Linked DNA regions of Homo sapiens: regions 2, 3, 4 and 5 are each linked to region 1. The links are contacts of gene promoters, found by promoter capture Hi-C in blood cells and fetal thymus (Javierre and others, 2016). All regions are on one chromosome and are shown on one strand. Each heading gives the region's core, a stretch centred on a gene start or on the middle of the fragment in contact. The rest is flanking DNA. Distances are from core to core; before and after follow the strand shown. Region 1 holds the start of IGSF22-AS1 (IGSF22 antisense RNA 1). Region 2 holds the start of LDHAL6A (lactate dehydrogenase A like 6A). Region 3 overlaps TSG101 (tumor susceptibility 101). Region 4 overlaps TSG101 (tumor susceptibility 101). Region 5 overlaps UEVLD (UEV and lactate/malate dehyrogenase domains).

The links. The method cuts DNA at HindIII sites, captures the fragments that hold promoters and counts their contacts. A CHiCAGO score of 5 or more calls a contact.
Region 2: the fragment with the promoter of LDHAL6A here is called in contact with the fragment with the promoter of IGSF22-AS1 in region 1 in 11 of 17 cell types (erythroblasts, activated CD4 T cells, total CD4 T cells and 8 more); the score reaches 9.3 in erythroblasts.
Region 3: a fragment that was not itself captured here is called in contact with the fragment with the promoter of IGSF22-AS1 in region 1 in 1 of 17 cell types (activated CD4 T cells); the score reaches 5.6 in activated CD4 T cells.
Region 4: a fragment that was not itself captured here is called in contact with the fragment with the promoter of IGSF22-AS1 in region 1 in 2 of 17 cell types (activated CD4 T cells and naive CD4 T cells); the score reaches 9.3 in activated CD4 T cells.
Region 5: a contact is called between a fragment that was not itself captured here and the fragment with the promoter of IGSF22-AS1 in region 1, in 3 of 17 cell types (activated CD4 T cells, naive CD4 T cells and total CD8 T cells). The highest score is 9.3, in activated CD4 T cells.

What each region holds. Positions count from the first base shown.
Region 1 is chr11:18,703,264-18,709,588 of GRCh38, reverse strand. IGSF22-AS1 (IGSF22 antisense RNA 1) reads right to left here and starts at 3,108. Exons shown (of 3, transcript NR_186353.1): 1 at 2,440-3,108; 2 at 2,196-2,311. IGSF22 (immunoglobulin superfamily member 22) reads left to right here. Exons shown (of 23, transcript NM_173588.4): 18 at 1-202; 19 at 1,294-1,382; 20 at 1,593-1,785; 21 at 2,376-2,675; 22 at 3,443-3,772; 23 at 5,051-5,277. The coding sequence ends at 5,121. It overlaps TMEM86A (transmembrane protein 86A), which reads right to left. Exons shown (of 3, transcript NM_153347.3): 3 at 4,804-6,325. The HindIII fragment of the contact is 1,081 bases long and covers 2,043-3,123 here.
Region 2 is chr11:18,453,550-18,459,874 of GRCh38, reverse strand. It overlaps LDHAL6A (lactate dehydrogenase A like 6A), which reads right to left and starts at 4,019. Exons shown (of 7, transcript NM_144972.5): 1 at 3,069-4,019. The coding sequence starts at 3,194. The HindIII fragment of the contact is 8,824 bases long and covers 1,873-6,325 here.
Region 3 is chr11:18,478,971-18,485,295 of GRCh38, reverse strand. TSG101 (tumor susceptibility 101) reads left to right here. Exons shown (of 10, transcript NM_006292.4): 8 at 1,224-1,426; 9 at 3,427-3,666; 10 at 4,661-4,985. The coding sequence ends at 4,750. It overlaps LDHAL6A (lactate dehydrogenase A like 6A), which reads right to left. Exons shown (of 7, transcript NM_144972.5): 7 at 5,695-6,325. Among named protein-coding and RNA genes, the nearest start is that of LDHAL6A, 26 kb to the right of the region's middle. The HindIII fragment of the contact is 942 bases long and covers 3,187-4,128 here.
Region 4 is chr11:18,504,404-18,510,728 of GRCh38, reverse strand. It overlaps TSG101 (tumor susceptibility 101), which reads left to right. Exons shown (of 10, transcript NM_006292.4): 5 at 1,064-1,187; 6 at 3,806-3,872. Among named protein-coding and RNA genes, the nearest start is that of TSG101, 19 kb to the left of the region's middle. The HindIII fragment of the contact is 1,107 bases long and covers 2,099-3,205 here.
Region 5 is chr11:18,551,207-18,557,531 of GRCh38, reverse strand. The region is part of intron 7 of UEVLD (UEV and lactate/malate dehyrogenase domains); the gene reads left to right. Among named protein-coding and RNA genes, the nearest start is that of TSG101, 27 kb to the right of the region's middle. The HindIII fragment of the contact is 7,996 bases long and covers 1-6,325 here.

The DNA of each region.
Region 1 (6,325 bases), core at 1,859-4,358:
TCTGGCTACATCCTTGAGATGAGGGCTGAAGACACAAAGGAGTGGTCCAAGTGCACAAAGATCCCCATCTCAGGCACCTGCTACACAGTGGGAGGACTCATCGAGAGGCAGAAATACTTCTTCCGAATCCGGGCTGTGAATGAGGCTGGGGTTGGGGAGCCTGTGGAGCTAGACAAGGGGGTCCGTGCCATGCCACCACCAGGTGAGGACACAGAGAGGGCTGGGGATTCATGCCCAACATTGTACCTCCAAACCTTCTCCTCTGGGGCCTCATCCCACAGGAAAATTGGATGATGCTAGGATCATGAAAAAGTCATCCATAGTTGTTGTGCCTGGACAAAGTTAGGGGTAACTTCAGGGGCACCCCTACTAAATCAATCATTGTGTGCCAAATAGCATCTACTGTGTGTCAAGGTGTAACCACCCAATGGGTTCTTCTTGCGCATTGTACACGCAAAACCAGTTCACTGAGACCACAGCATTGCAACAAAGAGTTTAATGGACACAAGGCCAGCCATGCTGTATGGGAGACAGAGTTATTACCCAAATCAATTCCCCGAAAATTCAAAGTCCAGGGAGCCTGCTTCTGACTGGGGCCTCAGGACTTGTGGGGTGGAGGGAGAGCAGGTCCAGGTGGAGCCATCAGTCGTCAGAAATGCAAAAACCTGAAAAGACATCTCAACCACCAATCTTAGGCTCTACAATAGTGATGTTATTTGCAGGAGCAGCTGGGGAGTTGCAAATCTTGTGATCTCTGGAATAATGGCTGGTAATCTTTTATGTCTACACCTTAGCAGAATTCAGGCTCCTCACATCCTCCTAACCTGGTGGCCTTTCATTAGCTTCGCAAAGGTGATTTAGTTTGGGGGAAGACTGTTATCATCTAAGCTATAAACTAAATGTCTCTCCCAACATTAGCTTGGTCTGAAACCAGGAATGATTAAGGGCAGTTTGGAGGGTAAAGGCAAGATGGGGGTTGGTTAGATCAGATCTCGTTCACTGTCATAATTTTCTCGCTGTTATAATTGTTGCAATGGCAATTTCAAAAGGAGGTGTTAGGGTTATAGAAACAAGACACAAGGACTTGCCTTCCAGGGTCTTGCGTACTAGTAGAAGGAGACAGATGAGAAAACAAATAAATGCTTCACAGGGTTGCAGGGCAGCTAGATGTCTGTATGGCCTGTAGTGGGGGCATAAAGGAGGAGAGGTTGGGAAGGCTTTGATGAGGAGGCTTAAAGCAGAGTCTTCTTGAAAGACAGATCCATGCCTCCACCTCTGTCTCCTCCATCTCAGCTGCACCCAAGTTTGACCTCAGTGCCCGGCTGAAGAGTCACATGGTGGTTCGCGCTGGGACAGCCCTCTGCATCCATGCAGCCTTCTCTGTGAGTTGTCCCTGACCCTGACCTCCATACACTGTCCACATAACCAAGATGGCTATTGTAGCCATCACAGTCTCTGACTCTGACTCTGACTCTGCCCCTCACCAGACCCCTAGTGCGACAGCCTGGCAGGAAACTCCTCGACAATGGAGGAAGGCCTGCCCCCAAATATCATCTGTGTGACCAGTTGTGCCATCTCCTGTCACTACTCAGGGCTCACCACCACCTGACGTGATCTGGCAGAAAGATGGCGTTCCCACCAAGGGCCGAGAGACAATTACCAAGAGCAAAAACCACTCCCAGTTCCTCATTAATAGCACCAAGCGCTCTGACTCAGGGGTGTACCGAATCTTGCTTCAGAATGAGTTTGGAGAAGCACGCTATGACATCCATGTGCGCGTGGCAGGTATGGAGAGAAGGCAGAGGCCTCCAAGACCCATCCCTGTACACTCTCCAAAGCACAGCTCCCCAGTGCCGCTTGAGTTCCTACCACAGGAAAGTCATGCCTTAGGGCCATGAAGATTTCTTTGACACCACAGAGCAAGACTTTATCATACAGAGTATGGTCGGCAGAGAGAGTAGAAATGGGTGGAGGGGCAGGAGGGACAAATGGAGATGAATCCATTAAAAATTGGGGTGACTGCTTAAAGAGAGCTGGAAGCTTTAAAATAAAGCTCTAAACCCCCAAGGAAGGAATGGATTCATTTTTACTGAACAGTAACTACATGCCAGTCTCTTTACCCACTATTTCTACGAAATAGTCATTGTCAGCTCTATTTTGCAATTGAGGAAAGAAGTCTCAGATAAGTAACTTACCCCAGGTCACGAGGCTAGTAAATGGCAGAGCAGACTTCAGAAATAGTTTTCCGACTCCAAGACACCAGCTGCCTGAGACTTGCCCCATCTTATCTTCCATCGGACTTGGCAGATGGCTGGGGTGGGGACATAATACTTCAGGTGCCCCAAGGTCGCTGACAGATCTTCCAACTCTTCCAGATTTCCCTCGGCCCCCCACAAACCTACGGTTGTTTGAGGAAGTCCCCAACACAGTGACTCTGACCTGGAACCACAGCCCAGATGTGCAGGAGGACGGTGAGGCTCACTACATCATCATGAAGCGGGATGCAAGCACAGCCACCTGGTACACGGCAGCCGAGCGTGTCTTCAGCAACAAGTACACAGTGACGGGGCTGCTCCCAGGCAGGAAGTACTACTTCAGAGTGGTGGCTCGGAATGAAATCGGTGACAGTGAGCCACTTGACTCCAGGGACACCTGGCTCATCAATAAGGACCAGAGTGAGTCTGGGACTTGCAGTTAGGGTTAAGTCTGGGTGCCCTGATGGTGGGGATGACATAAGGGTCCCAAAGGGTACCCAAGAGGCAAGATAAAATCTGAAAACCATTGAGATAGAACGGTTAATATCTGGGACGCTGCGGAGAGAAGGAAATATTGGCTTTCTTCGGGGTACTTAGGGGTGAGACTAAAGTGGAGGTGGGGAGGTACCTTTGGGGGCAGAGAGGACGGTGGAGGGGCTGCGGAGGGACATAGAGCGCAAACGCGTTCTGCTCTGAGGGGAGGGTCTAACGGGGCTGAGAACAGGGGAGGGCTCTAGGGAGCCGGGAGGATGTCTGGGATCCCTGGAGGCTAGGGGTTAAGGGTGGGGGCCGCGTCGGGAAACTCGAACTGAGGAGCTAAAGGGATAAGAGGGGAGACTGTGGTCGCTGATATGACGTAGGGGAAGCTTGGAGGCGGAGTTAAAGGCTGGGAATAACCGGGTCCAGGAAGCTGGCGCTGGAATGACATCTCGGCCCCAGGGGTGTGGGAAAGCGTGGTTTGGGTGGCAGAACCCTGGAGTGGCTGGGGACGGGGCTGGGGGGTCGGGGGAGGCCTGGGGGCGGGTGGGGAGCCCTTAAGAACCAGTGTAACATTGGGCCCCCAGAGTTGGTGGCGCTGGGAATGTGGCCTAGGTCCTCGGGGTTCCGTGTAAGCTGAACTGTAAGACGTGGGTGGTGGGTGGGGGCCTTGGGGCGCCCTCACGGCCTGCCCCGCCCCGCCCGCGCAGTCCAGGACCTGAGCGCCAAGCTCAAGCCCTACGAGAAGAAGGACTGGCGCCACGCGCCGCGCTTCGTGACGCCCCTCAAGCCACACACGGTGCTCCGCGGCCAGGACTGCACCATGACCTGCGCCTTCCTTGGGAACCCGCGGCCCACAGTGACCCTCTACAAGGGCGACGTCAACATCACGGCCAACTCCAAGTTCTGGTACAACTCCACCAGCGGCGTGTGCACCCTCGTCATCCCCACCTGCACGCTCAAGGACAGCGGCGATTACAGCGTGCTGGTGGAGAACGAGCTGGGCAAGGACCGCAGCAGCTGCACGCTCACCGTCTATGGTGAGGGCGCCGCGGGGTCCGGCCTCGAGGAGGGGGAGAGGCGCAAAAGGCTGGTCTTGTGGGCCATTGGTCAACTATTTGGCTGGCACCGTTTTTTAATCTGACTGCCAACAGGTGGTGCAAACATTCTTAATTGGCCACAGTTCTTACCACTCTCCCATCCTTTCGATGTCATTTGTTATATGCCTGGCCCCTGCAGACATGAGAGTTCTCAATCCCTAGATAAGATGTGGTTTGCAACTCTTGGTGAGCCTAGACCTGCCTTCAGAAAAAAGATACTGGTGATCAGGACTCAACCAGACTCACCAATCACGATCTCTCTGGCACGGTTCTGGAAATAACCTATATGTTTACAAAATTTTGCGGGTGATTCTGATGTGCAATAAAAATTAAAACTGGTCTAGGATAAGGACCGGTGGGGGGCACAAACAAGGGAAGGAGCGAAGGGAACCCTCCCTTTTGTACATGCATGCCATGTTTCTACTCATGTGTGCACACATAGGGGGAAGCATTTTATTCCTTCCCAGTCTACTGTCTTCATAGCCACACAGCTAGCAGCATGAACTCTAAATGCAAAGCTGGCCTGCCTTGCTTTCTGTTGCTTAAATTTCCCCCAGCTTTCCTCTCATGGTAAAATCCCAAACCAAGAAGGTTTCCCCCTCCCCCACCTCTCATCTCACCTTCTGCTACTCCTGAACCTTCCATGACACTCCATTGCTGTGGTCTCCATGGTTACAGACCTTTTTTATCCAGTTATAGATACCTTTCTTTGGGGAAAGGACCTTGTCCTGTTGCTCTGTCTCTCGAGTGCTTAGCTAAGTGTCTGGCACTGAGACAATATCTCCAGAGAGGCTGCTGAGCTGTGTAAAAGAACTAGGCCAGGGAAGGCACTGTGGGTGCTATCCAGCTTTCATTCCACAGCTAAAGAGATCCCTGATAACTCAAATCTGCTTGTAAGCACAGCAAATGGGCCCAGGGCCCTGGCTCTGCCACTGACCAGCCATGTGACCTTAGTAAGCTACCTCATTGAGCCTGTTTTCTCATCTTCTTTATAGGACTATGAGGCTTAAATGAGACAGTACACAACTGCCTGGCACAATGTCTGGCAAATATTAAGTGCTAGATAAATGGCAGCTCTTGCCCCTTCACACTCTGCCAACCCAAGATTAAGGGTCCCAGGGTCCAGCTCCTGGTTTCCTGCATAGGAAGTCCAGCAGTTTGGAATTTCCCTGGTCGCCAGCATCATTAATATAACGAATACTTCCTTTGCTCTTTCAGACAAAGATGATAAGTCAGTTGTAGCATCCATCACCGAGAGTCTGCAGAAGAAATCAAAGCACCTCATGTGAGCTCCAGCCAAGCCCAGGCATCAGGAGGCTGTTATGATGTGGAGTTTCTTGGCCTGTCCTCTGCATGGCCCAGTGTAGGAAGCCCAGTTTGCTCTCTGGTGTTTGTTAATGTAAACATTCAGTGAAGGGATGGGGCAATAAACGTAACTCATCCTTTCCCGTTCCTGAGGGTGATATACAGCAGGGACCAAGGGGATGGATGTGATTGCATGATAGGGAATCCCAGACCTGGACCCCTGAAAGCCTAGTCCAAACCCACCCACAAGGCAGTGACCAGCCTTCTTGTGACTGGGCCTGGTCTTCCCTTCCCCTCCTCCACATCTACATGGCACTTTCCCCCTCCCCTCAGAGCTTGGGGGCAAGTCCTGCTGACTTCATCCTGCTCTCCATCCTGCTCCCTCCCATTTCTTCACACTAGGTAGGTCTGTGTTCAGAGTTCTGAAGTTTGAAAGGATCAAGATCTTCCCTCTTTAGTGTCCAGGGTTCAGAGCTAGAAGGGATTGATCATCCAGCTCACTAAGTTTCAAACTTACGTTTTTCAGTGGAATCCTTCCAAAACAAAACAAAACAAAAAAAAACACAACCTAAGAAGCTACTGGACTTGAAATAAGGATAGGAGGTCTTTGAGCCTGCCTTCTCTCATTATTCCTTCACTACCCCCTTACCAGGAATCTCTGTAAAAACTAATTTGGAAATCACTGACTCATCCAACCACCCCTGAGACTTGAGTCTCCTAAATCACATCCCCACAAATGAGCAACACCTCTACTGATGGCATATCCACCACCACCCAAGGCTTCCCTTTCTACTTCTGGGTTAGGGCATTGTCTGTTAAGTTACAAATGCTCCTGGAGCAGAGTGATGTATTATTCTGCCAGGGCTTTACAACTAATGAATGAATCAGCCAATCTAATCCCATTGCTCCCAGCTGTTCAACTAAGCCCAGAGTCCAGGATGAGGGAGATGCTTGAAGGGAATCTGGATCATTTTGAAGGAAGCAGCAGGTCTCAAGTGGGGAGGGGAGGAGGTGGGCAGCAATAGATGACACTGGGTAACTAAAGGTCACCAAGGGTGCTGGGCACCTGTGCACAGGGGAGTACATCAAGGACAAATTTGGACAGTGGCAAATACCACTCATCCCCCATCCTCCTAAACCACATCCTCACCCACACCAGGGAAGTGAGACACACTCCAACCGGCACAG
Region 2 (6,325 bases), core at 2,770-5,269, 250 kb after region 1:
TTCTACAAAATACTTGACTAGTACTCCTCAGAATGCTCAGTCATCAAAAACAAGAAAAATCTAAAGAAACTGTCATAGCCTAGAGGAGCCCAAGGAGATACAGTGACTAAACGTCATGTGGTATCATCCTGGATGGGATCATGGAACAGAAAAAGGACAGGTAAAAACTAAAGAAATCTGAGTAAAGTGTGGACTTTAGTTAAAGGTGATATGTCAATATCCATTCTTTCATCGTGACAAATGTACCACACTAAGGTATACAATATGTATTAGAGTTCTCTAGAGGGACAGGACTAATAGGATAGATGTCGATATGAAAGGGAGTTTACTAAGGAGTACTGACCCACATGATAACAATGTGAAGTCCCACAACAGGCCATTTGCAAGCCGAGGAGCAAGGAAGCCAGTCCAAGTCCCAAAACCTCAAAAGTAGGGAAGCCAACAGTGCAGCCTTCAGTCTGTAGCCAAAGGCCCGAGAGTCCCTGGCAAACCACTGGTGTAGGTCTCAGAGTTCAAAAGCTGAAGAACTTGGAGTCTGATGTTTGAGGGCAGGAAGCATCCAGCACGAAAGAAAGATGAAGGCTGGAAGACTTAGCCAGTCTAGTCCTTCCACGTTCCTCTGCCTGCTTTTATCCTAGACGTGCTGGCAGCTGATTAGATGGTGCTCACCCAGATTGAGGGTGGGTTTGCCTCTCAGTCCTCGGACTCAAATGTTAATCTCCTTTGGCAACACCCTCACAGACACACCCAGGAACAATACCCTGCATCCTTCAATCCAATCAAGTTGACAATATTAACCACCACACCATACTAAGGTGTAATGTGGGGTATAAACTGTTATCCTTTCAATTTTTCTGTAAATCTAAAACTATTCTAAAAAATAAAGTCTATAAAAATATATCCTAACAATCTCTCTGGACTCCCTTTCCTTATTTATAAAAATGAAAGTAAACAGAATATCCCATCTTTATATTCACAATCCAGTGCATTCCATTTTAATGGGCATCTTTTAGCAATTCTTTCATCCAACTACTAAATATCAATTACAGGAGGCACTCTTCTAGATTCCAGATACAACACTAAAAGAAAAAGTGGATCTCGCATTATACTAATTAAAGTTTATGTATTATGGTAAAACTCAGTAATTTTTAAAGACATTACTGTTTCTCTACAAGGTTCATACCACAAATTCCTGACAATAAATTCCTGAACAATTCATATTGAGAATTCCTTATCAGCAAGGAGTTTTTAGGCTATCACCACCTCCTTGAATGACAGAAGTTGCAGTGTCTAGGGCCAGGACAGGGAAAGATTAAAGTGAGCCTTAACCTGAGGCTTTATAGGGGGATTGTGTACCCTATTTCCTAAGATATACAAATGCCATAGTTAGCAACATACTAGAATTCAAGTTCTAGAAGCAGGAGGTGACTGGGAAGGCTCTGCTTCATACCTTTACAGCAGGGAGCACCACTGAGTTTGAACAATGGGTGCTACAGGTGGCATTTTAAGCCTCCAGAGGTAAGCCACCAGTGGAGCCTACAGATGCTCTTACATGCCCGGTGGGGCCTGTGCCTCCCATCACCAGTTGCAATGGAATGCACTCCTGCCCTTCTGTACTCCTATCCACCACCTCCACCTGAGATCTATCTAGGACCTCCCATCATGGATAGGGCCATGAAACAAGTGCAGCCCCATGGCACTGCCCTATCCTGGGCCCTGGAACCTCCCATCAGAAGCCCCAAAATTCCCTCCACTCCTGCAACCAAAGCCAAGCAGCAGCTGGCAGAGGTAGGAGTTCCAGGGATATGGCTCAGTCCCTCCCTGAATGGCCCTTCAAAGCAGAGGTGATAAATAAATCTTTTATTTCAAGCTTTTCTATATATATTACCTGTATACTTATCTATTCATGCAATTAGAGATAGTCTATTCCTTTTTTCTCCTCTAAAAAGTAGGTCTAATATTTACTTTCCAGGGTTGTAATATTGGATAATGCATACAAACATACTGTTATCATTATTACTGATGTTAAAAAAAATGTGTTGGGCAAAGCAAGGTGGCTCACATCTGTTATCTCAGCACTTTAGGAAGCCGAGACCTCCTGCTTGAGGCCAGGAGTTTGAGAGCAGCCTGGGCAATACGTGGAGGCCCCATCAAACAATCAATGAGTCACAGATGTGTTGGTTTTCACGTGTGTGTATTCTTCATTAGCAGTGAGGACACTGCTGATAAAGGCATTACAATAGGTAGGACAAAATGAATCATGGGGAATTTGTATGGCTGGCAGGAGCAGCAGTTGGCTGTGGCTGCTGTCCTTAGTGCCATAAGGTCACTATGTCATCTAGATATGAAACCCAGAGGCAATCCTTTAAATCCAATGACTCATGCCAGGATTAAAGGTTATATAAAAGATGGCTAAAACATTTTACAGATATTTCATTAATAAAAGTATAGCTCAGAGTGTCTTATGATTTATTAAAACTTTATGGTAATAAAGTTCATATCAGGGTAATATTCTTAGAAAGGGGTCAGAATCTTTTTTTGGCCTCTGTCTATAGCCATAAAACTTTATCAGCTGTATCAATACTAAGAACAGCTAAACACTAAAACTAACCTAACATGAATAAGGAACGAAGGGAAATAAAGATATACAGACTAGGAAATGGGAGAGAGATATTTAAATGAAAAAAGATTATTGTATTTGGTACTCGTAGGCTGCCTACCATCACTGACACGCTTGTATACTCTTTTCTGCCACCTATTTCTCTCCAGTTTGTTTTGTGAGCTGAGTTTCCAAATCAAGCAAAGGGGTACCTCATATTGTCATTACGTGAAAGTGAAATGTCAACATACTTTCACAGAGATGCTTCTAACCCACATGATATCATCATACAATTTTTAAAAAGGAGCGCCCTCTGGGTGAACAACTAAAAAAAGGGCACCTTTTCCTCTGATGCCCCTCACACTGGCTCCCCACTCACCACCTTGAACTGGACACAACCTCCACAACCATACGCTGTGGCCTCGCCTCCAACTGAGGTGAACCCTGTGGTGCAGAGCACACAACTTACTTTTAATAAGATGCTGATAGCACAAGCCACACCAACCGATCCAGTTCCTACAATGGAGATCTTATTGTGATGAATGGCCTCCTCTTCCGCGAAATTCTTAATAAGTTCACTCTTGATAGTTGCCATCTTGGAAACCTAACAGTGAAGACAAATTGCACAGCCATTTCCAAGACCTGGAATTGGAAATGGCTTGGAATTCCAAGACCTGCGGTGAGAGCGCGTATAGAGAACTCCTGGGCCCGTGTGGAAGGAGGTGCTGCAGACACACAAAAGACCGACAAATCTGACCAGCAAAGAAGCTGGGTAGGTTCTGGCCAGGCAGCTCAGCATCCATGAAGCGGACCAGGGGAAGGAGAAGGAAGCGTGAGTACAGTTAAGAGGAATTAAGAGAGAGAGAGAGGAAAGGAACAGGGGTTGCTCCACCAAACATGAAACTACAGCTGGGACGGCACTCCGTCCCGCAGCTGACCCCCTTTTCTCTCCCCTTTACCCTGCTGTTCCCCCAACCTCCAGTTCTCAGCTCCAGGACTGCGCCCGGGGTCCGCAGGTCCAGGTGAGAGGTACTTCTGGCCACACTCACAGGGGTGAAGGGCCACCCGCGCCCGAGCAGGTCACATGCCGCCTGGCGGAGACACAGAACCATCCTTGGGCAAAAACAATTCGCTCCCGCGGCGCCCGCTCTCTGGCTGCTCCCCAGGACTCTTGCAGCCCAGCTCATGGCCACTCACTCAAGAGGTGAAGAAAGAGAATGGAGGAAAATGGCGTTAAAGCTCATCGAGGCACGAAGGAGATGAACCGCCGACTAACAGACGCCGGGTCGCCCCCTTACTGCAGCTGCGCGGACCGCACCCAGCTCGTGCAGGCATCGCAGGTGTGATGCTTGGCAGGTGTGATGCTTGGCAGGTGTGATGCTTGGCAGGTGTGATGCTTGGCAGGTGTGAGGCCGGAAGCGGGCTGCGAAGCACCGCGCCTGCGCCTCTGCCTGCCCGCCCCGCCCCCGCGTGCGGGTGGGCGGGCTGCGGTGTAGGTGGTTGGCCGGCTGCAGAAGGCGCACGAGGTGCTGCAGGCACAACGCAGTGCAGGGCCTCTGCTGTTGGGCGGAGTTGTTTGCCTAGAACCCATCCACCAGAGAGCCCAAGTAATTTTATTTCTAACCAAACCTTGTCTGGATGTATCTGAAAAGGACTGTTTGACTCTCACGTGAAAATTTTCCCCCAGCCCTGTAGGAGAAAGGGACCTCAAGATTAACTTTTACCACCTCAAATGTGAGCTAAAGTAGAAAAAGTAAAATTTTAAAACTCTGGGCCGAGCGTGGTGGCTCACGCCTGTAATCCCAGCACTCTGGAAGGCCAAGGCGGGCGGATCACCTGAGGTCAGGGGTTCGAAATCAGCCTGGCCAACATCGTGAAACCACGTTTCTACTAAAAATACAAAAATTAGCTGGACGTGGTGGTGCACCCCTGTAATCCCAGCTACCTGGGAGGCTGAAGCACAAGAATTGTTTGTGAACCTGGGAGGCGGAGGTTGCAGTAAGCCGAAATTGTGCCACTGCACTCCAGCCTGGGTGACGGAGTGAGACCCTGTCTCAAAACAACAACAAAACTCTGTATGCAAAAGGAATTTGGAAATAAGATATGAAACCTGAAGAATTTGATGAATGCAGTGCCAATTGATAACCATTTTTACAAGATGAAGGGAAAGCTCAATTCATTATTAAGTGGTTAAATGTAGAATCCACACTTTGGGAGGCCGAGGCGGGTGGATTAGCTGAGGTCAGGAGTTCGAGACCAGCCTGGCCAACATGGCGAAACCCCGTCTCTACTAAAAATACAAAAATTAGCCGGGTGTGGTGGCACGCACCTGTAATCCCAGCTACTCAGGAGGCTGGGGCAGGAGAATCGTTTGAACCCGGGAGGCGGAGGTTTTGGTGAGCCGAGATCATGCCACTGCCCTCCAGCCTGGGTGACAGAGTGAGACTCCGTCTCAAAAATAAAAAACAAAAATGTAGAATTGAAAATCAGTCTGGAATAAACCAAGGTTTCTACTTCTCCCACCACATTTTACCTAATTGTTTTCTCATTTGTGAATCATAATACGTAATTTTGATGGTTAATACTGAGTGTCAACTTGATTGGATTGAAGGATGCAAAGTGTTGAACCTGGGTGTGTCTGTGAGGGTGTTGCCACAGGAAATTAACATTTGAGTCAGTAGGCTAGAAGACGCAAACCCACCCTCTATCCGGGTGAGCACCATCTAGTCAGCTGCCAGCACGTCTAGGATAAAAGCAGGCAGAGGAACGTGGAGGGACTAGACTGGCTAAGTCTTCCAGCCTTCATCTTTCTCCTGTGCTGGATGCTTCCTGCCCTCAAACATTGGACTCCTAGTTCTTCAGCTTTGGAACTCCGACTGACTTTCTTGCTTCTCAGCTTGCAGACGGCCTATTGTTGTGGGACCTCACCTTGTGATTGTGTGAGTCAATACTCCTCAATAAACTCCCCTTTATATATATAGCTATCCTATTCGTTCTGTCCCTCTAGAGAACCCTAATACAGTAATACATATTGACAAATTTTTATAAAATGTAGAGCAGTGTTTCTCAATCTTTTTTCATTATCACTCCCTCAAGAGTCTTTGTAGATATGTTCCCCCTAATTGTTTTGCACCCCCATCATGAAATTAAATATTAAGGAGTTGGCCGGGCGCGGTGGCTCACGGCTGTAACCCTAGCACTTTGGGAGGCCGAGGCGGGCGGATTGCCTGATCTTAGGAGTTCGAGACCAGCCTGGGCAAAACGGTGAAAGCCCGTCTCTACTAATATAAAAGAAATTAGCCAGGCGTCAGCTACTCGGGAGGCTGAGGCAGGAGAATGGCGCGAACCGGGGAGGCGGAGCTTGCAGTGAGCCGAGATCGTGCCACTGCACTCCAGCCTGGGCCACAGAGCGAGACTCCGTCTCAAAAAAAAAAAAAAAAAAAGGAAAGGAATTAGCCGGGCGTGGTAGCAGGCACCTGTAGTCCCAGCTACTCAGGAGGCTGAGGCAGGAGAATTGCTTGAACCTGGGAGGTGGAGGTTGCAGTGAGTGGAGCTTGCGCCACCGCACTGCAGCCTGGGTGACAGAGCAAGACTCCATCTCTTAAAAAAAAAAAAAAAAAAAAAAAACCTATATATATATATATATATATATATATATATATATATATATACACACACATACACATATACATATACGTTTATTTGTCAGGCAAGGTTGAGCTCTGG
Region 3 (6,325 bases), core at 2,408-4,907, 220 kb after region 1:
TTAATGGAGGAAAGATCATTGGCAAAGATTAGGTTTCACCATAATTTAATGGTAGAGAGAAGATGGGATCTGATGTTCGAGAGCATTAAACTTTTTTGTTAGTTTAGAATGGCTTAGAGTTTGTTGACAGAGTTTGTTGATGGTTTTGGTAAAAAGCAGGATCATCTAACAGGTAATTAGAAGACCCAGGTAATTCACAAGGCCCTTCAGGAAGTTTGCTTCCCAGCTACTCGGGAGGCTGAGGCAGGAGAATCGCTTGAACTCAGGAGGCAGAGGTTGCAGTGAGCCGAGATCATGCGACTGCACTCCAGCCTGGGTGACAGAGTGAGACTCCATCTCAAAAAAAAAAAAAAAAAAAAAGGCGGCAATTAAGGTTAAATATACTTAACGTCCTCACGTAGTATTTTATAATCAAACATAATTAAAAGTCAAAATGCCATTTACACATTTGCTGATTTGGGACAATAACTGAAGAACACTGATAGTCATAAAGAATACCCAAACTTATATTAGAAAGGGGACCTTTTTGAAGAAAATATCCAGAGGATGTTTATTTGATCTGAAATATGCATGGAAATGATATAATATACTGATTAGGAAGGGACATTTGGAAGAGAATAGTAAAGAATCTGGGAATAAACAGTTTATCAGCTGTTGAATTTTTTGGATGTCATTCTTTTTTGTTCATCTGTTCTGTCCTGTTGGTAAAGGGTGAAGTAGTAAAAGTCTTACAGAGGGAAGCCTTATTAACCTGTACATTCGTTTAGGGAAACTGCCCATTCTCAGTCCTCTCACTGGCCTCTACAGTGGGCACTTGTCTCCTTCAGCTTAGCAGCGAAGCCTGATGTTGGACTTGGCCTGCACCAAATGTTTTTCCTTAGTGGAAATTATTGTGCCATTTGTTGGTTATTTAGGAATAATTGTAATTGGTAGGGACATAGCCTCTGTCTCATTGAGAAAATAACTAATTGTAGCTAATTGTTTGGGCTATGAATAGGGAAACTGGGTTTAACATGGATTAATAGTAATCTCTTGTAGGGCAAGTATTTCTGAATCAACTCAGATTTTTACATTATTTCTCATGAAACTGGTAACATAATTTTTTTCTTTCCTCACATTTTGAAAGTGTCGGTTCATATTGCCCCCTTTTCTGAAGGTTCCTGTGAGACAAATAGAAGGAACTTGGGAAGTAAGCAAGTGTTTTTTGCCTCTGTTTCCTGCAGGTCCCAGTAGGGATGGCACAATCAGCGAGGACACCATCCGAGCCTCTCTCATCTCTGCGGTCAGTGACAAACTGAGATGGCGGATGAAGGAGGAAATGGATCGTGCCCAGGCAGAGCTCAATGCCTTGAAACGAACAGAAGAAGACCTGAAAAAGGGTCACCAGAAACTGGAAGAGATGGTTACCCGTTTAGATCAAGAAGTAGTAAGTGACTCATTAAAGACTTAAAATTTTTGGATTGAATTGTAGCCATGGCAGAGTGTTCTATATGTTCCCTGGATGTTGTGGGCATAGTAGGAGTTCAGAAAATTATAGGCATCTTTAAACATTTGAATGTAATTTTTTATACCTTTGTTTACAGTGGAGCCTATGTTTGGCATTTGGTCTTAGATTGGGAGGGGTATAATATTTAGACCATTTTGTTTGCACCTTGTATTAGTTCGTTTTCACACTGCTGATAAAGACATATCCGAGACTTGAGAGAAAAAGAGGTTTAATTGGACTTACAGTTCCACATGGCTGGGGAGACCTCAGAATCATGGTGGGAGGCAAAAGGCACTCCTTTTTTTTTTTTTTTTTTTTGAGAGTTTCACTCTTGCGCTCAGGCTGGAGTGAAGTGGTGCAATCTTGGCTCACTGCAACCTCCACCCTCCAGGTTCAAGCGATTCTCCTGACTCAGCCTCCTGAGTAGCTGGGATTACAGGTGCCTGCCACCATGCTTGGCTAATTTTTGTATTTTTTAGTAGAGACGGGGTATCACCATGTTGGCCAGGCTCGTCCCGAACTCCTGATCTCAGGTGATCCACCCACCTTGGCCTCCCAAAGTGTTGGGATTACAGGAGTGAGCCACTGTGCCCAGCCAAAAGGCACTTCTTACATGGTGGTGGCAAGAGGAAATGAGGAGGAAGCAAAAGCTGGAACCCCTGATAAACCCATCAGATCTTGTGAGACTTACTATCACGAGAATAGAAAGACCGGCTCCCATGATTCAATTACCACCCCTGCGTGCCATCCCTCCCCACCCCCTGCTACACACACACACACACGCACACAGGTCCCTTTCTGTGAGATACAATTCAAGTTGAGATTTGGGTGGGGACACAGCCAAACCTTATCACACCTTTGCCCTAGGAAATGTTTTAGGCAAAGGATGTTTTAACCCAAAGGAGGACTGTTTGAGTGCTTGATGTTGCCAGTTACTAGGAAATAAGTTTAGAGAGTTCTAAGCCATGATAAAGATCTGCACATCTTAGGAGCAGACTTAAAAGGACAGTACTATTTTATTGTTTCCAAAGGTTGTGTGAGCCATTTTTTAAAAGTATGTTCAGGGAACTTTCTCAATAATCCAGAGATACTTGGTTGGCTAAAGAGCTACATATAAACATAGCATATGCAACCTTCAGCTCTTTAAGCTTTCTCATAACAGACAGCTATGCCTTGGACAGTCCGTGTGTAAGTCAGCCCTATGGCTTTGCTTAATGATGATAAAGTGGAAGCATCAGCATAATTGAAGTGCCAATTTCACGCTCCATTTTCATCCCCATGAGGGAGAATTTATTCCAGTAAATGTGTGTTTTTGATGGAATAGTAAAGAATTCTTAGAAGGTTGAGGGCTTTGTGGAAAGTGATTTGTATGTACCCATTAGCCTTACAAAGTGGTTCTAGATTGTAAAATGAGCCTCGAAGTAGCCAATTTTTAGAATTCAGGAAAGTGACACCAATACAACTCAGAGCCTACAACCAGCACCTGCGTGTGATACTTTGTGATTAGAATGCAGACATTTGGGCCTCTATGCATTGAATCCTCTTCATAGACTGAGGAAAGTTACTCTCCTATGGCAGGTGCCCATTTGTTGGGAAGAAAAACCTCTTATGATTTTCTATGTAAAGGAACCTTCTGCTGGAAAGTATCTTGTCTGATGGCTTAGTTTGCAGTATCATTTGTCGCTGACAGGTGACAAGCTTGTTACTGTCACTGAAAGTGCTGTCACCTCAGGATATCTCCATCATTACTCTATTTCACTCAGCATAGTAGATCACATCTTTTCCTCTACCTTTGACCAGGGTGTTATTTGAAACATTATTCTCATCCATGAGTTGTTTAAACATGGTTGTTAGCCTGTCTTTTCCTGTGAAGTGTTGTAGGTGTCTGACAAGTGGATAATTATGTACAGTTATTAATGCTTGGACTGTTCTGTTTTCAGGCCGAGGTTGATAAAAACATAGAACTTTTGAAAAAGAAGGATGAAGAACTCAGTTCTGCTCTGGAAAAAATGGAAAATCAGTCTGAAAACAATGATATCGATGAAGTTATCATTCCCACAGCTCCCTTATACAAACAGATCCTGAATCTGTATGCAGAAGAAAACGCTATTGAAGACACTATCTTTTACTTGGGAGAAGCCTTGAGAAGGGGCGTGATAGACCTGGATGTCTTCCTGAAGGTATTTCTTCATTTTACGTTCCAAGATTTTTTAACTTGGGTTGTAGAGGCACTGACCTTGCAAACCACAAACCAAGAGAGTTTCTTTGTAGTATGGATTAAGATTCTTTATCTTCCCAAAAAACACTAAATGAGATGTAGGGTTTTGCACCATCTTTTTACCTACAGAGTACTGAGGATTGGTCTGAGCAGGGGAAGAGAAGTGGGCTGGTGGCTGCAGTTCTCTGCCCACAGGCAGCATTAAGATGAGTGTAACTCTTCTGTGCCTGGGTGGATCAGGAGGTACGATCAGATTTCCATTGGTTCTTTGAGGTCATACCACCTAAATTGAGATCACTGATTGTGCCACCTCCATTTTTTATCTGTTAATTTTCTTAGAGTTATATAACTTTAGACCAGTTTTCCCACATCAAAGTATCAGGCTGCCCTTTCAAGCCCTCTTGTATGAAAGTTGTCTCAAGCTTAATGCTGTTGTACAGAGGAAAATCTAGTAAGCGAAGTTTGGCTACTGCTGTCTCTTGGGTCATGGAGAACATGGTTTTAGGGATAATAGCAGCCACCCTTGGGATATCTGATCCAGCTGTAGCTGGAGCCTGGTCAGGTCATGTGCTGATCTTGCCTATCTCCTCTCACTGTGGGGGAATGGCCAAACCATGTGCCTCAGAAGTGGTACAACCACATGAATGGCTGGATATAAACCAGAGACCCAAGAGAGGACTCTTTTTCTGTACAATCTCTTGCTTGAGTGGCATGGCTTAGGAAAAGAAAGTGTAGGTCAAACTCCTGAGCCAGATCCTGCAATGTAATGCTTTCCCTGTTGAGTAAGCCTTTATAATATGCAGCTTAAAAGCCACATATAATGAGGTATTCATTCCAAAGGTTGGCAGGTCATGAGTTAGGGTTCTTAGATCCCATCTAGGTTACAAATTGTCTATTTTATGCCTGGGCCTAAATCAAAGCCATTCTAAACTATTCAAACTTTTCTCCCCTCCCAGCATGTACGTCTTCTGTCCCGTAAACAGTTCCAGCTGAGGGCACTAATGCAAAAAGCAAGAAAGACTGCCGGTCTCAGTGACCTCTACTGACTTCTCTGATACCAGCTGGAGGTTGAGCTCTTCTTAAAGTATTCTTCTCTTCCTTTTATCAGTAGGTGCCCAGAATAAGTTATTGCAGTTTATCATTCAAGTGTAAAATATTTTGAATCAATAATATATTTTCTGTTTTCTTTTGGTAAAGACTGGCTTTTATTAATGCACTTTCTATCCTCTGTAAACTTTTTGTGCTGAATGTTGGGACTGCTAAATAAAATTTGTTGCATAATTTTTCTCTCCTTTATTGGACTTTAGGAAAGATCCATGAAACCTTAGTAAGCCCAACTTCTCATTTAGCAAAAAAGGCATAAAATCCATCTTAAGTTGAAATTTAGTATTATTCTACAGCATATAAAGTGAATTAACATGGGGATATACCAAATAGAAATCTAAATTTTGAAATATTTGAAATTGAAGCATTTGAGTAACTTATCTGTGAAAGGTCCAAGGAGATGCTCTCCTACCAACCCTACTAAATTTGTTTCCTTTCTAGGCCTCACTGAACCATAAGTGTTTTCATCAAAAAGGAGCAGAGTGGCAGGTCCAAACTATATACCTGATAACTTTAGGATTAAAGGGAAAGATAGTGTACCATTGCCTCCCTGCTTTTATTGTCATTTAAAGTTTCGTCTTCATGGTGAGTGATTCTGTAGCCAAGTTTGTGACCACCCAATGAACTATATAGCTGCTGTATGTCCTGCAGAGCTCATCCAGAATAGAATGTTCTTGATCAAAATGAGAGTGCTAGAAAGCTCATGAGGCTACAAGGCTACAAAGAAAAGTATATTCCAATTTGGGATGTTATTAAGATAATTAGGCAGCCCACTCTACTCCCAAGAGAAGAATGACCAATTTAATCTGTTGTCACCAAGCGGTTTACAGCTTAAGGCCTTTTCTGTAAAAATTAAAATGCACTCAAAGAATAAAAAACAGCAAGGTCAAATCAATGTTTTATCTAGTGTTAGGAACATTTAGATTACTCTCTGTGTGTGTGTGTATATATATACACTTTTATTTTTACATTGTAGAGATAGCATGTAAATGAACATAGGTATTAAGCCATAGAGAAGAATTACTATGCACCTGATGAAAAGAATCAGGATTTGTGTAACACAGTAAACACATTCTTGTGGACCAGATGGCAATTACGTATACATACAAGGCAAGTACTGAGAAGTACCAAAAACATCTTTGATGCCGTCACTTTAAAAAAAAAAAAAAAAAAGTGTCATCTATCATCTGGATACTAAATCAAAGCTAAGGCCAGGCACAGTGGCTCACCCCTGTAATCTCAGCACTTTGGGAGTTCAAAACCAGCTTGGATGACATGGCAAAACCCCATCTCTACAAAAAGATACAAAAATTAGGCAGGCATGGAGGCACACGCATGTGGTCCCACCTACTCTGGAGGCTGAAGTGGGAGGCTCACCTGAGCTCGGGAGGTCAAGGTTGCAGTGAGCCATGATTGTGCCACTGCACTCCAGCCTGGGTGACAGAATGAGACCCTCCCAAAAAAGAAAAAAAAAAAAGCTGGAAGGCTATACTAAATAGGTCACTCTTTCCTCTATT
Region 4 (6,325 bases), core at 1,403-3,902, 200 kb after region 1:
CTGGATTACAAAATGGAGGGGAAAGTACTGGAATAGACCTAGAATTTTTAAAATTATGCATGCTGCAAAATAGCCTTATTTGATCCTCCTGCCTTGGCCTCCCAAAGTGCTGGGATTACAGGTGTAAGCCACCACCCCTGGCCAGTGCTCAATAGGTATTTGAGAGAAAATCTTAGTAACTTATGAAAAAATAGGAATCTCTTTGTCATTGTTGGAAGGAAAGATCCTTTAACAATTCACCCCTTTGTACTACAATCTAGCAATTTCTAAGCTAGAATCTACGTATAATTTTTTTGTTTGTTTGTTTTGAGACAGAGTCTTGCTCTGTCGCCTAGGATGGAGTGCAGTGGTGTGATCTCAGCTCACTGCAACCTCTGCCTCTGGGGTTTAAGCAATTCTCTTGCCTCAGCCTCCTGAGTAACTGGGACCATAGACGCACATCACCACACCCGGCTAATTTTTGTGTTTTTAGTAGAGATGGGATTTTGCCATGTTGGCCCAGCTGGTCTCAAACTCCTGGCTTCAAGCAGTCCACCCACCTTGGCCTCCCAAAGTGCTGGGATTACAGGTGTGAACCACCTCACTTGGCTAGAATCTACCTGTAATTTCAGAGTTCATAATATCTTTAATAAAAATTAATTTTAAGAACACGTATTTCCAAGATATCATTGATGTCTTTTAATGGCCTTTAATAATATTGTGACTGTTGCTCATATTCATCCCTAAATTTGTACCAGTATACTTATAATACATTGTACAGTGGCAATAAAATAAATTTTTGTTAGTTCTGTGGAGTCAAATGAAGAACAAAACTCTATGAATTTTGCAATATGCTGCTTTAACTAGTGCTATTTTTATATACTTGAAGCAAGAACCTTGCTGCACATCATGTTTAAAACCACTTAACTCTATTAAAATAAATTAATTAAATGAAATTTTCATGATTGGGGTCCTACAAAGAAAATTATCAAGCTGAGTTGAAAACCGATGAGAAATGGCTAACCTTTTTCTTTTTACTGAAAAGCAACTCTGTAGCTGACTTGAATTTTTTTTCATTTTGTAGCCACAGTCAGACTTGTTGGGGCTTATTCAGGTCATGATTGTGGTATTTGGAGATGAACCTCCAGTCTTCTCTCGTCCTATTTCGGCATCCTATCCGCCATACCAGGCAACGGGGCCACCAAATAGTAAGTAGAATTGAGATTTTACTTTAAAACTCATATAAACAAAAGAGAACAGAAACCTTTGTAAAAAAATAAAGAAAAATAATGACTTCTTTGCTTTTTAGTTTATCAAGCTAGTGGATTTTTTGGAAGTATTCTGAGGCCCCACATCTGCATGTACAGATTCCCACCAAAGACTGGCATTTGGGCTTCCATTTGTAGGTAGAAATCTAAGAATGGTTGTGCTGGATTCCAAAATGGAGGAGAAAGTGTAGAATAGAGCTAGAATTTTTAAAATTATGCATGCTGCAGAATAGCCTTATTTGATCAGCTTGGAAGCACATATAACTTGAAAGGTAGTCTGACCTCTCCTTTCTCTTTGCAACTACAAAATCAGTGTTGTAGATAAGGATTAAGGTCAACTGAAGCGTTCACATTCAGCTATTCTGGGTATACACAATTGGACATCTAGCTCTTAGCTTTCTTCTCTTTCGTACAGCCAATTCATGATTTTACCTTGTGTGGAGTGGTGGGAGCATGGAGAGAGTGTTGCTTCTCCCCTAATTGGAATATATTATCTCTGTTATCTCTATTTTCTTGAATAATTCTTACTGATACTTAAAAATCACTCTGAATAATTGTGAGTTGGTTGTACTTATTTTGAATTTACTAAATCTGCATTGATTTCACTGTGTTTTGAGCTGTGACTTTTTTTTTTTTGGTAAATTTTCTTTAAGATTATAATTAACCAAACTTGTTTATCTTACAAGACAAATTATATGTGCTTTCATTTTTCTTCTGCTGAAAATTATACTTTTTCCTTTTTAATCCATTCTTTCCTGAGGAACATCTTGGTTTATAAGCTGAATGGGAATTTAACAGAAAGAATTTTTGAACCCATTTCTCTTTCCTTCCCTACCTTCCCAGAATAAGCTTGATTTTAGGATTACTATTTCTTTTAGTAAAGGTACTGGTAATTCCTTTGGATTAGAAATTTGTTTTTATCTTATTAAATTCTGTTGACTCTAGTGCCCAAGAGTAGAGTATCTTGCTTAAGTTTGAAATACGAAATATTTGGCCGGGTGTGGTAGCTGTAACCCCAGCACTTTGGGAGGCCGAGGTGGGGGTGGATCACCTGATGTCAGAAGTTCAAGACCAGCTTGGCCAACATGATGAAACCCCATCTCTACTAAAAATACAAAATTAGCCAGGTGTGGTGGTGCATGCCTGTAGTCCCAGCTACTCGGGAGGCTGAGGCAGATGTTGCAGTGAGCTGAGATCGCATTACTGCACTCCAGCCTGGGTGACAGAGCAAGACTCTGTATCAAAAAAAAAAAAAAAAAAGATATCAAATATTTCCTAGTCTCATTACCTTTGTTTATTTGCTCAGATAATATAGCGAGTGACCGCTATGACAAAGGTAACCTTTTCAGAAATTCAGGTAGTCTCCTAAGCAACTTTTTTTTTTTTTTGAGACAGAGTCTCGCTCTGTTGCCCAGGCCGGAGTGCAGTGGTATGATCTGGGCTGACTGCAACCTCTGCCTCCCAGGTTCAAGTGATTCTCGAGCCTCAGCCTCCCAAGTCGCTGGGATTACAGGCCCCCACCACCATGCCCAGCTAATTTTTGTATTTTTAGTAGAGTCGGGGTTTCACCATGTTGGCCAGGCTGGTCTCGAACTCCTGACCTCAAGTGATCTGCCTCGGCCTCCCAAAGTGCTGGGATTACAGGCGTGAGCCACCGCGGCCGGCCTGCAACATTTTTTTTTTCCTAAATTTCTTTGAGTTTTAAATTGACATTGGAAGTGCAGTATTCAAGAAAGAGACCATACTATTGTTACTGTTGCAATTCAATTTTGTACTCAGTCACTGTAAGTCATGTTAAACACTCTAGAGCAGATTCTTTACTATTTTTTTTTGTCAGTTAAGCTCAAGATTAACTTCTCTTTTTCTTCCTCTATGTTGATTAGCCTCTTGGCACCACTGATCTTAGTTCTTTGGCATTCACGTTCTCTTTAAAGAATGTATAAAGTATTCTTTAAGCTTGCTGGGTTTTAACCTTTTATCCCTAGTATTTCTAAGCTTTTGTTTTGTTTGTTTCTTTGTTTTGAGATAGGGTCTCACTCTGTCACCTAGACTAGTTTTTAACAGTCTGGATAATGTAAGTTTTGTATAGGACTTCTCATAGTAGTTTGAAGTCTCTTGAAGTCTTTAAACCAACAAAATCAGCTGTGCTAATTGGCCAACATAGTTATAAAAGAAATATCAAAAGATTTATTAGATATAATAAAGAAGTTACTTTCTAAGAAGTTAACCTTGGACCGAAGAAGGCCAGAATTACCTTCCTCTAAATTTGAAATTGAACTTGCTCTTAGGTAATAGACTTCTTGAGAACTTTAAAAGCTGACCAGGTTGACCTGTTTGCCAGTTCTTTTGGTAGGGATTGTCATAAGTATTGTAATTCATGTTTAATGATTTCAGGATTATGAAAGGGAGAGGTATTTGTTTTGTTTTGGTGCTGAGATTTGGATTTTTTAACTGTGAAATTTTGCTGTGTATTGACAGTGTGATGTATATCTTATTCAGTAGCCTACATATTCAGGCCTTGTATATTATTTTTACAATGTGAAAAAAATTGTTTTTAGCTTCCTACATGCCAGGCATGCCAGGTGGAATCTCTCCATACCCATCCGGATACCCTCCCAATCCCAGGTAATGAAAAACGTTCTTTTGAATAATTGTATTACAAATTCTTCTATTAGATCTAGAATCAAAATAATTTGCTAATTAGGGCATTAAAATAAATTTAATTGCAATTTAGTGGAAGATAAAACTTGGTTTATTCCTGGAATTTATTTATTTATTTATTTATTTTTTTTGAGATGGAGTCTTGCTCTGTCACCCAGGCTGGAGTACAGTGGCGCAATCTCGGCTCACTGCAACCTCTACTTCCCCAGTTCAAGTGATTCTCCTGCCTCAGCCTCCCTAGCAGTTGGGACTACAGGCTGTGCCACCATTCCCGGCTAATTTTTGTATTTTTAGTAGAGACAGGATTTCACCATGTTGGCCAGGCTGGTCTCAAACTCCTGACCTTGTGATCTGCCTGCCTCAGACTCCCAAAGCGCTGGGATTACAGGTGTGAGCCACCATGCCCAGCCTATGTATTTTTTTTTTTTTAAAAGAAGAGAGTATTATAAAATATTTTTCCCCTTGGCTGAATTCATTATAACTAGCATTCCATTTAATATTTCAGCTATCTATACTAGATATACAAATTTCTTAAAAGGACTTCAAGATCAAAAACCAATTGAGATCACTGTCATTACTCAACCCATTTCTTTCCTCTTTAAAATAAAAATGCAGCCCAGGAGCTGCTTTTCTGTAGATTGAAAGAAACTCCTTTCAAATTATACACACACACCTTAAAATTCTAGCAATAAGGCCGGGTGTGGTAGCTCACACCTGTAATCTTACCCAGCACTTTCGGAGGCCGATGCAGGCGGATCACCTGAGGTCCTGAGGTCAGGAGTTCGAGACCAGCCTGGCCAACAGAGTGAAACCCCATCTCTACTAAAAATACAAAATTAGCCAGGCATGGTGGCACATGCCTGTAATCCCAGCTCTTTGGGAGGCTGAGGTAGGAGAATTGCTTGAACCCAGGAGGCAGAGGTTGCAGTGAGCCGAGATCGCGCCATTACACTCCACCCTGGGCGACAGAGCAAAACTCTCTCTCAAACAAACAAAACCCCACAACCTATCTTTTCTATACATTGCAGGAATCAATTAATGGTTCAGATAATGGGGTCAAACTTGTCGCATGATATTTACTTATTCAGTTCATAGACTACCTGTACTATCAACCTTTATTATCCATTTAGTAATAACATAGGTAACTAAATTAAATTAACAATGAAATCAGTCTGTTAACACACGCTAGAAAGTCAATGATAAATAATTACTAACCCATGTTTTAAATGTGTACTTGTTTCAGTGGTAATCTAGGAGTACTCTCCAAAGGTGGTCTATGGGCTAACTTAAAATCCCACCCAGCACTTTGGGAGGCCGAGGTAGGGATTGCTTGAGCCCAGAAGTTGGAGACCAGCCTGGGCAACATAGTAGACCTCATTTCTACAAAAAAAATTAAAATTAGCCAGGCATGGTGGTGTGAACCTGTAGTCCCAGCTACTTGGGAGGGTGAGGTGGAAGGATCACTTGAGCCTACAGATCGAGGATGCAATGAGCCGTAATTGCACCACTGTACTCCAGTCTGGCCAACAGAGTGAGAACCTGTCTCAAAAAAAAAAAAAAGATTGGCATATACTGATGCCAAGATGAGACTTCCAGCTGCTCTAACAATTAGCAAGGAAAATTTAACTCTACTAAGTCTTCTTAGTTTCATATAACCCAGTCATAATCCTCATGGATAAATGCAGCCAGATTTCTGAACACATGTCATAGGTAAATATATATATGTACATATATAATATCTAGGATCTTGAAAGTTAATTTAGCAAACACTTCATTTCTGGGTTGTCTTAATTTCACAACTTTTTAGAAGGTAATAAGCATTCTGTCACTTTGGATAGGTAAGCAGAGATTAGAAGAACATTTGTCAGGGACAATAGAGAAAGATTCCTTTGGTAGTAATATATAAGCAGGTTATTCATTTTAGATTTCTTGAGGCCCTAAATTTTCTGATTAAGTTCTAGAAATGGAATCCTACCTGAAGCCTTGAAATTACAAGGCTACTGAACAATTGCTAGTAAAAAGCAGCTTTGGACATAGAGGGAATAATTGTTGAAGGTACACTATGGAAATGGACTTCTGAACAATAAAGCTACAGATGGAGATTTCTCTGAAGTTAATATCTGTAGGCTTAGAAGAGTTTTATACCAAGTTACAAAAAAATTCAGCAATGTGATCACATTATCTTTGCAAAGGTATGCAAAATGGGAGAAACTCCAGAAAAAAAGAGCAGTTTATCCCAGTTTTCAGAAAGGTGGATTTAGAAATTTCAGTAGGATTGACATTTCTTTACAGCATTATAGCATGGATTACTGAAGAGACTAGAAACAAAAGTACTGTGTTCAGTAGCCTCCAGCATGTGTCCACTAGGAACAAAAATGCTTTCTTTTTTTTTTGTCTGATTTTGCTTTTATACTGAT
Region 5 (6,325 bases), core at 1,438-3,937, 150 kb after region 1:
TACATTCATTGCACTAAAAATATATTGTTAAAATAAATTTTAATAATAAAAAGATTTTCTGTGTCAATAACATTTGAGTGGGCCAGGCGCGGTGGCTCACGCCTGTAATCCCAGCACTTTGGGAAGCCGACGCAGGCAGATCACGAGGTCGGGAAATCGAGACCATCCTGGCAAACATGGTGAAACCCCATCTCTACTAAAAATACAAAAAAATTAGCCGGGCATGGTGGCGGGCACCTGTAGTCCCAGCTACTCGGGAGGCTGAGGCAGGAGAGTGGTGTGAACCCGGGATGCGGAGTTTGCAGTGAGCCGAGATGCGCCACTGCACTCCAGCCTGGGCGACAGAGTGAGACTCTGTCTCAAAAAAACAAAAACAAAAACAAAAACAAAACGTTTGAAATGTTAAATTTTCTATCTCTCTCTCTTTTTTTTTTTTTTTTTGAGTCGGGGTTTCACTCTGTCACCCAGGCGTGAGTGCAGTGGCATGATTCAGCTCACTGGAACCTCCACTTCCCCAGCTCAAGCTATCCTTTCACCTCTGCCTCCCAAGTAGCTGGGGCTATAGGCATGCACCACCACACCTGGCTAATTTTTGTATTTTTAGTAGAGACAGGATTTGCCTTATTGCCCAGGCTGGTCTTGAACTCCTGGACTCAAGTGATCTGCCCGCCTCAGCCTCCCAAAGTACTAGGATTACAGTCATGAGCCACCGCACCCTGCCCTATCTCATTTTTTAATTAAAAAATTTGCATGTATTTTATAATGTACGTAACATATTAGTATAGACATATTTATGTAGGTAAATACCGTATTTGGGGATGTGGAGTTGAAAGTATTTTACCAAGGATGCATGATCCAAAAAAAAGAAAAAAGGCCACTGAACTAGAATAAACATTTCCTAAAGCCTTTCTACCAAGTTATGGGTAAGGTCGGATTATAACATGCTATAGTTGTTTGGCTTTCCTTTGCCTTTCCTTAGGTCCCCTTTATTCCTTGACAATATTTTCCAAATAATATATAAAGACATACAGTATTACAAGCCTCAATAAACTAAGGAATGGTAGTCAGAAAAGTTGAAATTATACCTATCAGTTGTAAAAGTTAGGTGTAAAAGTTTTAGTAAGCCTTCGGCTGCCTGTAGGATACAATGAGTTCATTTTCCTTCTCTGGAAAGAGTACCATAGTTGCTTTAAGGATCTTTTTTGTAGGTCTCATGTAGAAGTTCTTTGGGGAACTGGATATTCTCTTGTGCCTGTGATTTTCAGGTACTGAAGTTCTTAAAGGACCTCTTAACTCTTCAAAATCACTTTAGGAGACTCTTCAGTATATGGACTCTAGAGGTTGTGAGGCCACGTAGGACTGAAGAAATTGTTTCTTCCTGTGTGTCTCATCAACCATCAATAGGTATTGCTTCAGATAATTGAAAGACTAGAATCCTTGGAATAGATGTGTAGTGCATGGTGCTTGCCACCAAGTAGGGAGTCAGTAATTATCTGTTGAATGTTGAATGAGTGTATATCATCTTGGGGTAACTTTCATTCATGTTCCCCTTATTAATTGTGGTTGTACATTTTTTTTTTCTAGAGACAAGGTCTTGCTCTGTGGTCCAAGCTGGAGTGCAGCGGTGCCATCATAGCTTATTGTAACCTCAAACTCCTGGGTTCAAGCGATCCTCCCACCTCAGCCTCCTAAGTAGCTTGGACTACAGGCATGTGCCACCATTCCTGGCTAATTTATTTTCATTTTTGCAGAGACAGGGTCTTGCTATGTTGCCCTGGGTGGTCTTAAACTCCTAGCCTCAAGCAGTCCTCCTGCCTCAGCCTCATAAGTATCTGGGACTACAGGTGCACGTCACCATACCCAGCTTGGTTGTATATTTCTGATAGCATTTATTTAATTACTATTAGATGAAGTAATTTTATTTATTCATTTGTTTATTTTTTTTAGACAGTGTCTCACTCTGTTGCCCAGGATGGAGGGCAGTGGCAGAATCATGGCTCACCGAAGCCTGGATCTACCAGGCTCAAGTGATTCTCCTATCTCAGCCTCCCAAGTAGCTGGGACCACAGGCATGCGTCACCACATCTGACTAATTTTTTTTTTTTTTTAAGACAGTCTCGCACTTTCACCCAGGCTGGAATGCAGTGGCACGATCTCGGCTCACTGCAAGCTCCACCTCCCGGGTTCACACCATTCTCCCGCCTCAGCCTCCCGAGTAGCTGGGACTACAGGTGCCCACCACCATGCCCAGCTAATTTTTTGTATTTTTAGTAGAGATGGGGTTTCACCATGTTAGCTAGGATGGTCTTGATCTCCTGACCTCGTGATCCACCCTCCTCAGCCTCCCAAAGTGCTGGGATTACAGGCGTGAGCCACCGCACCTGGCCCTAATTTTTTCATTTTTTGTAGAGACAGGGTCCCACTATGTTGCCAAGGTTGGTCTTGAACTCCTGGATTCAAGCCGTTCTCTCTCCTTGGCCTCCCAAAATGCTGGGATTACAGGCATGAGCCACTGCAACCATCCTTAGATGAAGTAATTTTAAATGTAATGTTAACTGACTTCTCATGAATATATTCTGAGATATGGCGAAGTACATCAATAATTCGGGGAATTAAAGCTCATTTGGAAATTTTAGTAATGCCCCATTGTAACACACATAGATGACTGCAGCTGACTGATCATTTGATGTCTTTTTTAATAGCTACTATAACATTTTGGGGAGGGATATACATATATACATATGAGCATGAAAATTTACATACAGATACATACATACACACTTATGCTTGTGTATATACCGACAATCTGGAGAAATACTAAGAAACTGTTAAGATGTTGGGCACGGTGTCCCATGCCTGTAATCCCAGCACTGTGAGAGGCCGAGGCGGGTGGATCACCTGAGGTCAGGGGTTGAGGACCAGCCTGGTCAACATGGTGGAAACCCATCTCTACTAAAACTACAAAAAATTAGCCAGGCATGCTGGCGGGTTCTTGTAATCCCAGCTACTCAGGAGACTGAGGCAGGAAGATCGCTTGAACCTGGTAGGCGGAGGTTGCAGTGAGCTGAGATTGTGCCATTGTACTCCAGCCTGGGCAACAAGAGTAAAAACTCTGTCTCAAAAAAAAAAAAAAAAAAAATGGCCAGGCACAGTGGCTCACGCCTGTAATCCCAGCACTTTGGGAGGCCGAGGCGGGAGGATCACCTGAGGTCGGGAGTTTGAGACCAGCCTGACCAACATGGAGAAACCCCATCTGTACTAAAAATACAAAAATTAGCCAGATGTGGTGGTGCATGCCTATAATCCCAGCTACTCAGGAGGCTGAGGCAGGAGAATTGCTTGAACCTTGGAGGAAGAGGTTGCATTGAGCCGAGATCGTGCCATTGCACTCCATCCTGGGGGCAACAAGAGCGAAACTCCGTCTCAAAAAAAAAGAAACTATTAAGAGTAGTTGCTTTAGGAGTCAGACCGAGGGAATTGATTTTGCACTTGTTTTTTGCATATAATAGTATATATATTTAAATCCTTTTATCTTTTTATTGTGCCCAAATACACATAACATAAAATTTACCATTGGTGACTTTAGGTACTCATTCACAATGTTGTGCAACTATCACCACTAATTTCCAGCATTTTCACCACCCCAAAAGGAAGCTCTGTACACATTGAGCAGTTACTCCCCATTTTCCCTTCTCCCAGGTTCTGGCAACTACTAATCTGTCTGTTCTGTGGATTTTCCTCTACTAGCTAATTTATATAAATGGAATCATATAGTATGTGACTTTTGTGTCACTTCGCATAATGTTTTCAAGGTACATCCATGTTGTGGCACGTGTCAGTGCATCATTCATTTTTGTGGCTAATGTTTCTTGGTATGGATATAGCACATTTTATTTATCCATTTATCAGTTAATGGACATCGGGTTGCACTTTTTCACTATTGTAACTAGTGCTACTATGAACATTCATGTACCAGTTTTTTTAATACCTCTTTTTGGTTCTTTTGGATGTATATCCAAAAGTGAAATTGCTGGATTATATGGTAATTTGATCTTTAACTTATTAAGGAATTAATTCTACACTTTTGAAGATGTTTATTAACAGTACATATAGCTCTAAGTAACTCTATTTCTTTGAAAACGTTCTACATAATATTCCATCATATGAGTGACTGTATTTTCTTTTTTCTTTTCTTTTTTTTTTTTTGAGACAGAGTCTTGCTCTGATGCACAGGCTGGAGTGCAGTGGCACAATCGTGGCCCACTGCAACCTCCGCTTCCTGGGTTCAGGCTATTCTCCTGCCTCAGCTTCCCAAGTAACTGGGATTACGGGAGCACGCCACCATGCCCGGCTAATTTTTTTTTTTTTTTTTTTTTTGAGACGGAACCTCACTCTGTCACCCAGGCTGGAGTGCAATGGCGCTATCTCGACTCACTGCAACCTCTGTCTCCTGGGTTCAAGTGATTCTTCTGCCTCAGCCTCCCAAGTAGCTGGGACTATAGGCGCATGCCACCATGCCTGGCTAACTTTTTGTATTTTTAGTAGAGACGGGGTTTCACCATGTTAGCCAGGATGGTCTCGATCTGCTGACCTCGTGATCCACCCGCCTTGGCCTCCCAAAGTGCTGGGATTACAGGGGTGAGCCACCACGCCCAGCCTAATTTTTTTTCTTTTTGAGACCAAGTCTCACTCATTCAGGCTGGAGTGCGGTGGTGCAATCTTGGCTCTCTGCAAACTTCACCTCCTGGGTTCAAGCGATTCTCTTGCCCCAGCCTCCCGAATAGCTGGGATTACAATTGTGTGCCACCACACCTGGCTAATTTTGTATTTTTAGTAGAGACAGGGTTTCACCATGTTGGTCAGGCTGGTCTTGAACTCCCAACCTCAGGTGATCCGCCCACCTCAGCCTCCCAAAGTGCTGTGATTACATGCGTGAGCCACCGTGACCAGCCTAATTTTTTAATTTTAATTTTTATTTTCATTTTTTGAGACAGTCTCGCTCGGTTGCTCAGGCTAGAGTGCAGTGGTGCCATCTCGGCTCACTGCCACCTCCGCCTCCTGGGTTCAAGTGATTCTCCTGCCTCGGCCTCCTGAGTAGCTGGGATTACAGGTGCACACCATCACACCTGGCTAATTTTTGTATTTTTAGTAGAGACGGGGTTTCACCATGTTGTCTCAGGCTGGTCTCAAAACTCGTGGCCTCAAGTGATCCACCTGCCTTGGCCTCCCAAAATGCTGGGATTATAGGCGTGAGCCACTGCACCTAGCCTTCAGGAAGATTTTTAATAGCTATAATTTTAGCACAGTTTTCTAGATTAAGGGTCATTATCATTAGTATGAGAGAACACACATTTCTAAAATTTTGGGTCATATTAAATAATTTGAAAAGAGTATATTCAATAATTTTTAGTACCGTAAGAATGGCTTAATGATATACCAGATAAATGAAAATATGTGTAGTGTCTTCAGTATATTCAGACTGATAGAGTAGCTAGAATATTTCAGTAGGTCTGCACGGTATTTACCCATCATTATTTGATACAGAGTTACCTGGTCTTTCAGTATTTTAAATAATCAGCAGTGTTTTAAAATGAGTTCATATTTCATTCATCATAACATTGGCCTCATAATCCGAGAACAGTAGTATATTAAAGCATGAAATATTATTTACTGGGTCTTTTGACATACTTGATTTGATCATCCCTTAGTATAACTGTGACCAGCCTTTGGTTTAGGTTGTAGACCTTGGCTTAGCAGGAAGGATATAGTTTTTTCTGGGCTACCTATAGAAATGGGAAAGAGGTGAGAGGCTTGTGTCCTGGTAACACAGATGCTGACTGAGTTCTTGGCATGGGAGGAAACTTAGCATTATGCTAATGTCTAAGTGGGACAACTCATATTTGAACCAGGCGGTCTCATTCTGAAGCCCTCCTTACTAACCCTTGTACTACATTGTGTGATATATAGAGTAGGGACAATATCATGTTCACTTTTGTGTTCTTAGGGCCTAACACATTACCTGTGACATGACAGGACCTTAGTAGGGGTTTGTTGAATTCATTATTGTCGAATGAACTTTTATCCTGATCCTCTTTTTTTTTTTTTTTTTGTGATGGAGTCTTACTCGGTTGCCCAGGTTGGGGTGCAGTGGCGCGATCTCAGCTCACTACAACCTCCTCCTCCCAGGTTCAAGCGATTCTCTTGCTTCAGCTTCCTGAGTAGCTGGGATTACAGGCACGTGTCACCACGCCCGGCTAATTTCTTTTTAGTAGAGACAGGGTTTCACCATCTTAGCCAGGCTGGTCTTGAACTCCTGACCTCGTGA